4 separate regions of the Homo sapiens genome follow, and regions 2, 3 and 4 are each linked to region 1. The links are contacts of gene promoters, found by promoter capture Hi-C in human tissues and cell types (Jung and others, 2019). All regions are on one chromosome and are shown on one strand. Each heading gives the region's core, a stretch centred on a gene start or on the middle of the fragment in contact. The rest is flanking DNA. Distances are from core to core; before and after follow the strand shown. Region 1 holds the start of SHROOM3 (shroom family member 3). Region 2 overlaps SHROOM3 (shroom family member 3). Region 3 overlaps SHROOM3 (shroom family member 3). Region 4 overlaps LOC105377286 (a long non-coding RNA gene).

Evidence for each region. The method cuts DNA at HindIII sites, captures the fragments that hold promoters and counts their contacts. A contact is called where the count stands out against the background at its distance.
Region 2: a fragment that was not itself captured here is called in contact with the fragment with the promoter of SHROOM3 in region 1 in 2 of the 25 tissues and cell types used here (adrenal gland and neural progenitor cells).
Region 3: a contact is called between a fragment that was not itself captured here and the fragment with the promoter of SHROOM3 in region 1, in 1 of the 25 tissues and cell types used here (mesendoderm cells).
Region 4: a fragment that was not itself captured here is called in contact with the fragment with the promoter of SHROOM3 in region 1 in 2 of the 25 tissues and cell types used here (hippocampus and neural progenitor cells).

What each region holds. Positions count from the first base shown.
Region 1 is chr4:76,433,852-76,436,551 of GRCh38, forward strand. It overlaps SHROOM3 (shroom family member 3), which reads left to right and starts at 1,378. Exons shown (of 11, transcript NM_020859.4): 1 at 1,378-2,369. The coding sequence starts at 2,202. The HindIII fragment of the contact is 12,167 bases long and covers 1-2,700 here.
Region 2 is chr4:76,581,160-76,583,921 of GRCh38, forward strand. The region is part of intron 2 of SHROOM3 (shroom family member 3); the gene reads left to right. Among named protein-coding and RNA genes, the nearest start is that of MIR548AH, 7.0 kb to the left of the region's middle. The HindIII fragment of the contact is 9,198 bases long and covers 1-2,762 here.
Region 3 is chr4:76,604,210-76,607,004 of GRCh38, forward strand. The region is part of intron 2 of SHROOM3 (shroom family member 3); the gene reads left to right. Among named protein-coding and RNA genes, the nearest start is that of MIR548AH, 30 kb to the left of the region's middle. The HindIII fragment of the contact is 5,373 bases long and covers 1-2,795 here.
Region 4 is chr4:76,244,887-76,247,621 of GRCh38, forward strand. It overlaps LOC105377286 (a long non-coding RNA gene), which reads right to left. Exons shown (of 3, transcript XR_938897.4): 2 at 209-284. It also overlaps a transcript of FAM47E not described here. Among named protein-coding and RNA genes, the nearest start is that of FAM47E, 5.5 kb to the right of the region's middle. The HindIII fragment of the contact is 9,167 bases long and covers 1-2,735 here.

The sequences.
Region 1 (2,700 bases), core at 128-2,627:
TCTTGAGCTTATGCCTCCTAACTGAAATTTTGTATAGCTATGTTACTTTTAATATTAAATGTGGATTCTGTAAAATCCCAGTTTTTACAAAATGTATTAGGAGTAACATAATAAGAGCCTCATAAATTAATTTTTTCAGAAAGAAAGCTGTTCATTTACCTAGGACTTTTATTTAAAATACATATGTTCTTTGAAATGAAAGAAAAGCTAATGTTTCTCCATTTATTCTAACTTACAAATTAAGCTGTAAAAGAAAACCACAATAGAAATTGCGTAAATTACCCTTAAGAATCAGCCAATTTTTACCACATACTTTCATTTGGTACACCTTAGGTTTCCTTATGTTTCCATTCACATACTACCATTACATAAGGTTTTACTTTTTTTTTTTTTTTTTTGTCTTTGAGCCCTTCAAGTGAAGTTACCATTGAAAATCAAACAATACCTGTCCAGTGTTGTAAATTAAATATCGTGTAGTTTGATATCATATACCTGCCTTTCCATATCAGCCTTTCATTAATTATAAGTACAAACACCAAAATAATTGTTATCAAGCCCCACAGTAGTTTTTAACTTCAGTTTTCAACTTAATTCTCATTATCCCATACTTTTAAACAGAAAAAAGTTTTAGTACATATATTACCTGGAAGTAATTCTAATCTGTTCCAATAACTAAATAGCTGAGGCTTCTGGGTTAGATATGGTTATCTTCTACTGTTCAAATTTTTAATACAAAGCATGAATGTTAAATTTGTATATAACATTATTACAAAATGACACTGGTAACATGAAATCAGAACAACATTCTTTCCCGAGTACCTAGTACTTACCCACAAGGCATTGTAGATTTCTTTTCATTTAAAGAGTGGATAACAATCTTGGAGTAGATAACAATGAAAACCTAGAAAAAAAAACCCACCTCCTGTTTTTATTGAGTCAAACAAGCAGAACTTTGATTGGAAAGTCCCATTTCATATATTACACTGGTAGTATTTTCTTCTAACGAAAAAAAAAAAGCCCTTGTGCCACCACCTTGACATGTACTTAAACGTTTACCCAAATCACTTAGGCATTGCTTCTCAAACTTGGCTGCATAGCAGAATTGCCTGGAGGGTTTTTAAAAACACAAATGCCTATGTCTCACTCCCTGAAATTCTCCTTTAATTGGTACGAGGCGGGGCTATTCTAGGAACTATTTTCTATCCCTTGGCAATTAGCCATCTGTATAGTATTTTTAACTTCCTACGTGTTATTAACTGTAAGACTGTTTGAATTGTCAGGTCTTTGTGGTGAGCTGAATTCTGCATGGCAGTGCTTACTGTGCAGAAAGGTTGCAATGCCTCACTTTGCCTTAATCCATGTTCCTCTAACTTCCTTACTCTTTCTCTCAAGAGGAGGCAAGTGGCTGTGGCGGCCGCAGCAGTGGCTGATCATCACTGAAAATACCAAAGAAAAGAACTGAGCTGCCTCCTTCATATTTTTTCCATTGAGGATTAATTTACCGTGCTTTTTCATTTTCTCTACATCCTGCAAAAGTTTTTTTCTCTCCTAAGAAACAAACTATGAACTGATTGTTGAAAAAAAGAAGTAAAAAGTTTTAGCACAGCTTCTCTGTCTCTTCGGGACAAGTTAGAAAATTCTGAAGTGAGCCGAAGCATAGTAAGTGCTTTCTTTCTTTTTAAGCTACTTCTGGGGAGGGAGGAGGCTATTGTAATGGTAAATTTCACTCCGAGAGGAAGAAAGGGTTGATAATCAATCAAAAATGAGGTATTCCTTTGAGTATTTGTGATTTTCTTACTATATTGTAAGATGCTTTTAATTTTCTCTGTAAAATAGGCAGAAATGGTTTTAGTGTGTGTATGTGTGAAATAAAAGCTCAGAAAAGCAATCTTCAGAGCGCCACTGAAGGAAGTTTTGACGAACGGAGTAGAGATGTATACCACTTGGGGGCTTCAGTGAGAACCCAGAATTCCTGGAGGAGGATTTACATTCAGAAATGTTGAAGTGAAAATTCCTTCTGGTTCAGCATCTTGGAGTTCAGCTTGGAAGAACATTTTACGTATGGAAGAATTTGCTTCTCCAAACCTCTCTTTTGGCCATTGTGTGTCCTGAAGGATGGGACAACTTGTGCTGTAGAAGCACTGCTTGCCTGAGTTTGCTTCAGGCATTTTAAATTTAACTTGAGGGATCATGTGTTTGGCATGATGAGGACCACTGAAGACTTCCACAAGCCTAGTGCCACATTAAACTCTAACACGGCCACCAAGGGAAGGTACATTTATCTGGAGGCATTCCTGGAGGGAGGAGCTCCCTGGGGTTTTACTCTAAAGGGTGGCCTGGAGCACGGAGAACCATTAATCATCTCTAAGGTATGTTTCTTTTTCCAATATTGCCTTTATTCAAATTGTTTTTTTCAACTTGTCAGATTTGTCAAAAATGCAAAATAATGAGAACTGCCTTAATATAACTTAATTTGCTGTTTCATGCCTTTCTGATTATCTAGAAATATTTTGGATAGCCTGGGATTTGAAAGAAAAATGTGTCTAGCTCATTTATTCTATGAAATCCGAAGAAAAATATGCCTGTTTGATGGATAATCTTCTCTTTTTGTGAATGAAATCGCATACAATCAGTTACCACATGAGCTTTTCAGTTATAAATCAGATTAAAGATTAATAACATGGTTAAGATGGTGGCATG
Region 2 (2,762 bases), core at 172-2,671, 150 kb after region 1:
AACTTGGTTTTCCCTGTCTGGGATGTTGGGACTTTGAAGGGATGATTGAGTTCAATGCCTTTAATTGCTACCTTCTGGCCAGTAACATTCTTGTGAAGAAATACCTTGGTTTCCCCAAAGAATTAAAGAATGTGGAAAGAGAGAAAAAAGAACAGGGGGATATGATTACTTTAGGCCAGTAGAAAAGAAGCAAAATTAAATTGAAAAAATGTGTTGATTCTCATCTGTAATTCCAGTCATTTTCATTTGTGTGCCTTTCGATTGCTGTATCATAAGTGGTTTATGTCCTACAGTTATTATACTGGACAGGCATTGTATAATAATACTTTGGACTTAACTGACATCTTTTATGATACTAAGAAGCCTGGAGCCATTATCTCATCAAAATTGTTAAAGTTACGGTGTCATCAGCCTGGGATAAAAAATGATTGCCTGAGTGTAAAATGAGCATTGGGCTCAGCTGCTGTGTGTCTGCTTCCCTTACAGCATTTTCAAGGATCTGACTCTTTCAGACATACTTGGAGTTCAACAAATACAATTTCCCAGGAAATTAAATGAAAATGGGCTATAAGGGAGAAACTAAGCTTACTGAGTTTCTATCTAGGCTCACTGCCCAGTTTTCTTTCAACCTGAAACCTATATGTGGGAATTTGCAGAGTTGGGCTAAACTAATCGTGAACCCCACGAAGTTCATTTACTGTCTAACACATCATCATCATCTTGGACCTGGTCTCTACCCTCACCATTGAGATTTATTCTACAATCACTCTTCCTTCTAAAGATGCAGTGTGACTTCCAAAAGTGAGATGTACAGGACACCTGTTCTACCTGAATCTTTTGCATATTTTGTAAAGTTTATTTATTAAGCACCTAATAAATGCCAGCCATTGCTCTAGGTGTTTGGAACTCAGCCATGATAAAAATCAAAAACCTCTGTCTCATGGAGCTGACATTCTTGTGAGCAGAAGCAATAAATAACAAACACAATACATATGTGAATGAAACAGTGTGTTAGAAGTTGGTGAGTGCTCTTAGAAAACCAGACCAAGAGTTCAAGAGGCTGTTTCTAGCTCCCCCATTCATAAATTTCCTAAGTTCCTCCTGGGAGTTTAAATGGCTATGCCCTACAGGCATTTAAACCTACCTTACACAGAAAATCAATCTACCTTACAACACCTAGAGAATAGTTTAACTGTTATGGACAGACCCAGAAATTAAAAAAAAAAAATGAGCAAAGAAACCACAGTCTTCATTATTTTGTGCAGCTTTCCCACCATAGACCTTCATCTCTAATCCCAAACAAGCACCTCACAAGGCCATGTGCAAATCATTAAGGAAAAAGACCAGCGGAAATCTGGTGTTCAGAAATCAAGGCTATTCATCTTGGTCTGCAGTTCATCAACAGAGTAACATAAAACTCTCCTGCCCTGGGCTTATAAAATGGCAATTAGGAGAAAACAGGATGTGCTTGAGTAGATGAGCTACTAGCTTTGAGAGAAAAAAATGAAAGCACCATATTCAAACACTCATCTAGTTTATTCCTTTTTATCCTCTCTTCACCACAAATATTAGGACTAGGAAGACACTGAGTGATGTTCTAGACCAGAGGCCTCCTCCAAGGATGAGGAACAGAGCCTTAGACAATAAGTAACGTGTTCAAGGTCACGTGCTAATCAGTGGCAGAGCCAGAAGGGAAAGCAATGTCCCCTCCCTTCTGGTCCAGTGTGCAGCGGGGTCCACAGCACTGCTTCCAGATTAGATCATCATTACTTCTTCCAACAAGAATGGCCTAACCCTCTGCAAGTGATTGCCAAAGAATCTGGACAGGTAGAAAGTGAGAAGTCAAGATGTTTGTGAGAGCATTCCACATGAGGAACAGATGCGTTTGTTTTTGATCACAGCTGAGTCTGAATGCTCTCTAGAACTCAGATGTAGAGAAAGGAGGAAATACAAGATGGGGCTGTGGGCAGGTCTTACCTGGGCTGGGGGAGCAGCGTGGTGTGGATGGTCTTCCTTCTAAATGAGGGGAGCTGGTGCACATTCCAGTGTAAAGAACATCCTATGCACCAGAGTTGTCTGCACTGACTTAGGACGGCATCATCTCCAGACTTGAGGACCCCTGAGCTCACCATTCTTCTGTCCATGAGTGGCCACCCAACCACCCAAGGGTGAAAGGTCGTGCTCTATGCTCTCACCTCAGGTCATGATGAAGGTAGGAAGAGCGACCATCCAGCCCATACCACCACAACTGGGTAACATTAGAGCTCTTCCTGTAGACCAAGCACTATGCTAAGTGCTTTTTCATAGCATCACCTTCAGTCCTCACATCAGATAGGTACCCATTTCAGAGGAGAGAAAACTGACGCTTGGAAAAGCTGAATAATTTGCCTGCAATCACAAAGCTGGTGAATGCAAAGCCTTTATCTCAGAGGGTGGTGGTTCAGAACATGGGCTCTGTGGTCAGATTGCTTAGGTGTGCATTCCAGATCTGCTGCTTGCTGGCTGTAAAATGTTCAACAAGTTACTTCTCGAAGCCTCAGTTTCCACATCTGTAAAGTTGGAGTAATAATTATAATATTTACCTTATAGAATTGTGGTGATGATTAGAGAATGTAACATGGTAACTACCGACACATAGTAACTACTAACTATGGGTCAACTGTAGGTTGGAACCACATGAAATTTCTATTGTAGTGGACCAAAAATTATCAAATATTGGCAATTTCATATGGTTCAATCTAGTATTACTAAAAGGCATCCAT
Region 3 (2,795 bases), core at 26-2,525, 170 kb after region 1:
GGAAGAGGATGTTTTCAACACTTTTAGCCTGTTGTAATACTTGGGGGCTACTGGTTGATTGTGCTTTAAAGGATGTTGATATCAAATATGGTCTGGCTATATTTATGCCAAGTTGCTGACATGTTGTATAATATTTATTGTTCCTAATGCATGATAGGATCAAAATGCTGTACACAAACAGGTAAAGATGGTTTTGCAGCTTTGGGTTTTCAATTTATTTTCTAGAACATGTCTCACTTGCTTTCCTACATAAAGACACATGATTGCTTTTGAGCTTAACTAAATTTAGTGTGGTATCTAAGTTGTCTGTGTGTTATTCTGGTGAACAAAGGCACTTGATCAAAATGATCTCTTCAAAGTTGGAATGCCTTCATTAAAATGTTCAAATGGTAACCGTCCACCTGAAGGATGCCATGAAAATATTAGAAATCATTGTTTTTTAAGCATTGATGTTGATAATTGTTAGACAATGTCTGAAACTTTTGAAATCACAACCATCTAAGGCAGTATAGGAAACAGAAATAGCAGGGATGTTGAAACACTAAAATAGTAAGTTTTGTAAGACAAAAGTGACCTTGCGTTCAAAATAAGATTTCTAGGAATTTATTCTGTTGATTTTAGATTGAATTTGTAGTAAGTAAACAATTAGCTGACTATATAAGGCTAAGGAGTTACTTATCTATGAAACCAAAAATGTGAACTAGTTTATCTGTAGGGTCCATTTTGTCTCTAAAATGCCAAAAATCAATCTAATATATTTCCCTGGATTGAATTCCTCAAGGGTCAAGGTGCATGCACCTTTGATATAGTGCTGAATGAAGCATTACTAATAAACATTAAACTGATTTGGATTTAAATACCTCTTACACAGCTCAAATGCAGGCTTGAAAAGTAATGTCCCCATGGCGGTAAAAGCATCAGTATGAGTGTACGTGTGGAAAGATTTGTTGTAGGAAGATCAGTCAGCCCTATTTCATGATGACTTCAATGTTGTCGGTGCAGCAGTGGAGTCATGGCCATGACAGCATCATCAGAGTGAACTTTAATTAAAAACAAGTGGAGAAATCAACAGCTAGGATTTGCCCGGGAAATACCTAAATGACATACAGCCCGGAAGAGGATTTCGAGGCACCATTTTATTGCATTCTAGTGGGAGAGAACAGTTCTCATTATAAAAATTCTAAGAAAAGTTGGAAAAATAATGAGCACCATAAATTAGATTTGAACTAGGCATGCCTTTTAGCCTCAACACATCCCATTTTGTATCCCCTTAAACTGTCAGAGAACAGGCAGGTATGACTCATTCCTCTAACTTGGGTAAGCAGAAATTAAAATAATCCTATTTAAGAAATAAATAGCAAAAAGGAAACTATAAATAAATGGTCAAATAGAATTGCTTAGTTGTTGAGAGAACTATGTAACTCAGCTAAGTGACAACAAAGGGAAAAAACCTAATTAAGTTGCTGAAGAGGGGGAAAATATTTTTTCAGTGGCATAAATCCCAGAGCAAAAACAAAAACAGAAAAAATGAAAAGATGTATGCTTTTAAATAGATGGAAAAAATCCTTGTTTTCTAAAATGTGACCTTAAAGACCCTTGGTAGAAATTCTAATAGCTACCATTCAATTTCTTTCTATAACACCTTTGATACAGAATCACTCTTTATCATTTCATAGTTCCAAAAATGTATTAAAGGCACAATTTTCTCTCTCTCTCTCTCTCTCTATATATATATATACACATATATATATACATATATATACACATATACACACACACACATATATATATATATATATTTTTTTTTTTTTTTTTTTTTTTCTGAGACGGAGTCTCACTCTGTTGCCAGGCTGGAGTGCAGTGGTGCAATCTCGGCTCACTGCAACCTCCACCTCCCGGATTCCAGCGATTCTCCTGCCTCAGCCTCCTAAGTAGCTGGTATTACAGGCGCCTGCCACCACGCCTAGCTAATTTTTGTATTTTTAGTAGAGACAGGGTTTCACCAAGTTGGCCAGGATGGTCTCAATCTCTTGACCTTGTGATCTGCCTGCCTCGGCCTCCCAAAGTGCTGGGATTACAGGTGTGAGCCACCAAATACTATATATTTTAAACAAACAAATACTTTTAAGTGTTATGCTTACTACCGACTGCTGCTTACCAGTGTGGTGCATGTTAGCTACTCTGAATGTTGGTTTTTTATCTGTAAAATGATAGTAAAGGCTGGGTGCAGTGGCTCACACCTGTAATCCCAGCACTTTGGGAGGCGGGTGGATCATTTGAGGTCAGGAGTTGGAGACCAGCCTGACCAATATAGTGAAACCCCATCTCTACTAAAATACAAAAATTAGCCAGGCCTGGTGGCAGGTGCCTGTAATCTCAGCTACTTGAGAGGCTGAGGCAGGACAATCACTTGAACCCTGGAGGCAGAGGTTGTAGTGAGCTGAGATCACACCACTCCACTCCAGCCTGGGCAACAGAGCAGGACTCCCTCTCAAAAAATAAATACATACATACATACATACGTACATAAATAAATAAAATGGGAGTAAAAACCTTTACCTCTAGAGTTCCTGGGAGTATAAATTACATGCATTATACATTAAATTACATACATAGTATTGTACTGGGTAGCTGGCAGGAGTCCAAAAAATGCTGTAGCAGCTTGTAGAAAGTGGTCTTGGTATGCTAAACTCTACTCTGACTCTGACAATTTCCATATTTTTTACCAAATCAGCTTACTGTGCCTCAATTTCAAAATCTTCAAAAATGGCAGTGTGTTCAAAAACTGTGTGTGT
Region 4 (2,735 bases), core at 47-2,546, 190 kb before region 1:
ACATTTTTGTTTTTTATGCACAGTTTTATATAAACCACATTGTAGTAAAAGTTTCATTCTGTTTTTCTTCATTCAGCAATATATTTTTAAAAGTCTAATCATGTTGCTGAGTATCTATCTAGACTATTGCTTCTAATGATGCCTAATTATCCATCCATTTTATCCACTCATTTCACAGAAATGGACATGCACATTGCCCCCAACTCACCAACACTAGTAACGATGCTGCAGCAACATCCTCATACGTCTTGCCTTGTGTGTGAGAATTCCTCTGGATTCCTATACTTAGCAGTGGAAATACTGAGTCATAAGTAACATACGTATCAGAGTAAAACCAGGAAAACAGAAGCCACTCTAAGTGTGTAAAACTAAGATTTTAATGCAGGGAATAGTTACAGAGGTGATGAAAGAGCTGAGAGCCAAACAGGGGACATAGGTAATCTAGAGACTGGCAATAATAGGAAACCCCTACCACACCTAAACTGCACGAATTGCTTGGAACCAAGAGTTTGAGTCATGTGACAAAAGCCGGAATCATAGCACCTGGTGGGAGCTCCAAGAGAAGGAAGAAATATAGATGCCTCTATAAATAGGAGAGAGATGGAGAGAGAAAAATAGCCTGACTGTTCCCTTCCTCCATCCCCAATCTCCTATTAGTGCTTTCCACTAGCCGAACCCAGCCCCCAGTGCAGCTTGCTGACGCCAGGGCAGAGCAGGCAGGGGCAGTGAAGAACAAATCAGCCAGCAGATACCATATACTTGGTTTGACTAAGTCCTTTCAGATTGTTCTCCTAATAACTGTTCTAGCTACACTCCCACCAGCAATGTATCCCTACATCCCATCTACTCTTCATGGCCCACTGTTCAACAAAGAGTGGAGGTACAGATCTCCACTATCTTCCTTTAAGTGTGTCTAGCCTATTGCAGATGGCTCAGGCATCTCCTCAAATCTAGCAGCCTGACCGAACTAAAGGACCCATCCATCCACTTAACCATAACCTCCTGAGGGCAGGAACCTTGTCAATTTTATCTGTAATCCCCTATCTGCCATCATGCTCAATGCTACTGACCAAGTGAGAAATGCTCCTGTTGACTATTGGTGTCATGCCTTTACCCCCATTGTTATTTGGTTTGCAGGTGTAGTCTACACTGAGGGCAGTTTTCAAGAAGCCACTTAAAACACTATGCAGGAAAATCTCTAGAGAGATTCTGTGGGTGAGGGAGAAGGTTGACAGTAAGCTGGTAAGCAAGGTTTAGGACTATAATGGTTGTCAAAACACTGTGTTGGTTGGTAAATAGCCACTGCTCTGAGCAATTCTGAGTGACTGCTGTGCTCTGGTGGCTCCAGCCACTCTCTACAAGATCAGCAACTAAAGGAAGGTATTGCCATTATGATTAGGGGACTCTAGGACTCCGTTGTTGCAATCTGGCTGGCCATCTTCCTGATTGGTTAGTGTATATGCTTTACTGGTTGTTAAATATTTTAAATATCCTTCCCCTGGATGAGTACCACAAAATAAGGAATGTTTAGGGGAAAGTCTGCAGACTTTAGGGTGCCCTAGGGCTCCCAGGAAGCTTGTTTCTTTATGTGATAATGGGGTAGAGATTTCTCTAGGATTATTTTCCTGATGGAAAATGCTGCATTTTTTGCTTTTCTCTTATTGAATAACTTACATAGTAAAATGCACAAATCTGATGTGTATAGCTCATTAAAATTTTACATATGTACTAACATATCCACCAACTAGATCAAGATGTAGAAGATTTGCATCTTCCTAGCAGACTCCCTCATGCCTTCTCTTTGTCAGTTACCCGCCAAGTAACCACAATTCTGACATTTATCATTATAAATTAATTTTGCCTGTTTTAAAACTTCATGTTAATAGGAACACAGTGTATACTCTTGACGTCTGGCTTCTTTTGCTCAACATTAAAAACATACTTCTTTTGGGATTTATTTGACTATCTTTCCAATTTGTTAAGTTGGATTCTTAGCTCATTAATTTTCAAATTTCCTTCTTTTTTTGGTATTTTTTACAACTTTAAAAAATTGTGTCAAAATATATGTAACATGAAATTTGTAACTTTAACCATTCTTTTAAAGTTTATAATTTGGTGGCATTAATTACATTTACAATATTATGCAATCATTATCACTATTTCAAAATTTTTTCATCATCCTCCAAAAAAACCTCTGTATCCATTATGCACTAACTCCTCATTTCTTCCTTCTCCCAGTCCCTAAAAATCTCTAATTTACTTTCTGTCTCATGAGTTTGCCTATTCTAGATATTTCATATAATGGAGTTATACACTATATGTCCTTTTGCATTTGACTTCTTTCACTTAGCATGTTTTCAGGGTTAATCCATGTTATAACTTATCAAAATTTCATTCTTTTTATGAATAATTTTCCATGTATGTATATGCCACATTTTGTTTATTAATTCATCTGTTGGTGGACACTTGGGTTCTTATCACTTTTTGGCTATTGTGAATAATGCTGCCATAAACATTGATGTACAAATATCTGAGTTCCTGTTGTTAATTCTTTTAGGTATATACCTAAGAGTGGAATTGATGTGTCATATGGTAAACCTTTGCTTAGCTTTTTGAGGACTGCCAAACTATTTTCCACAGCAATTGCAAGATATTATATTCCCACCAGCAATGCATGAGTGTCCTAATTTCTCCACATCCTCACCAACACTTGTTATTTTCTATTCGTTTGTTTT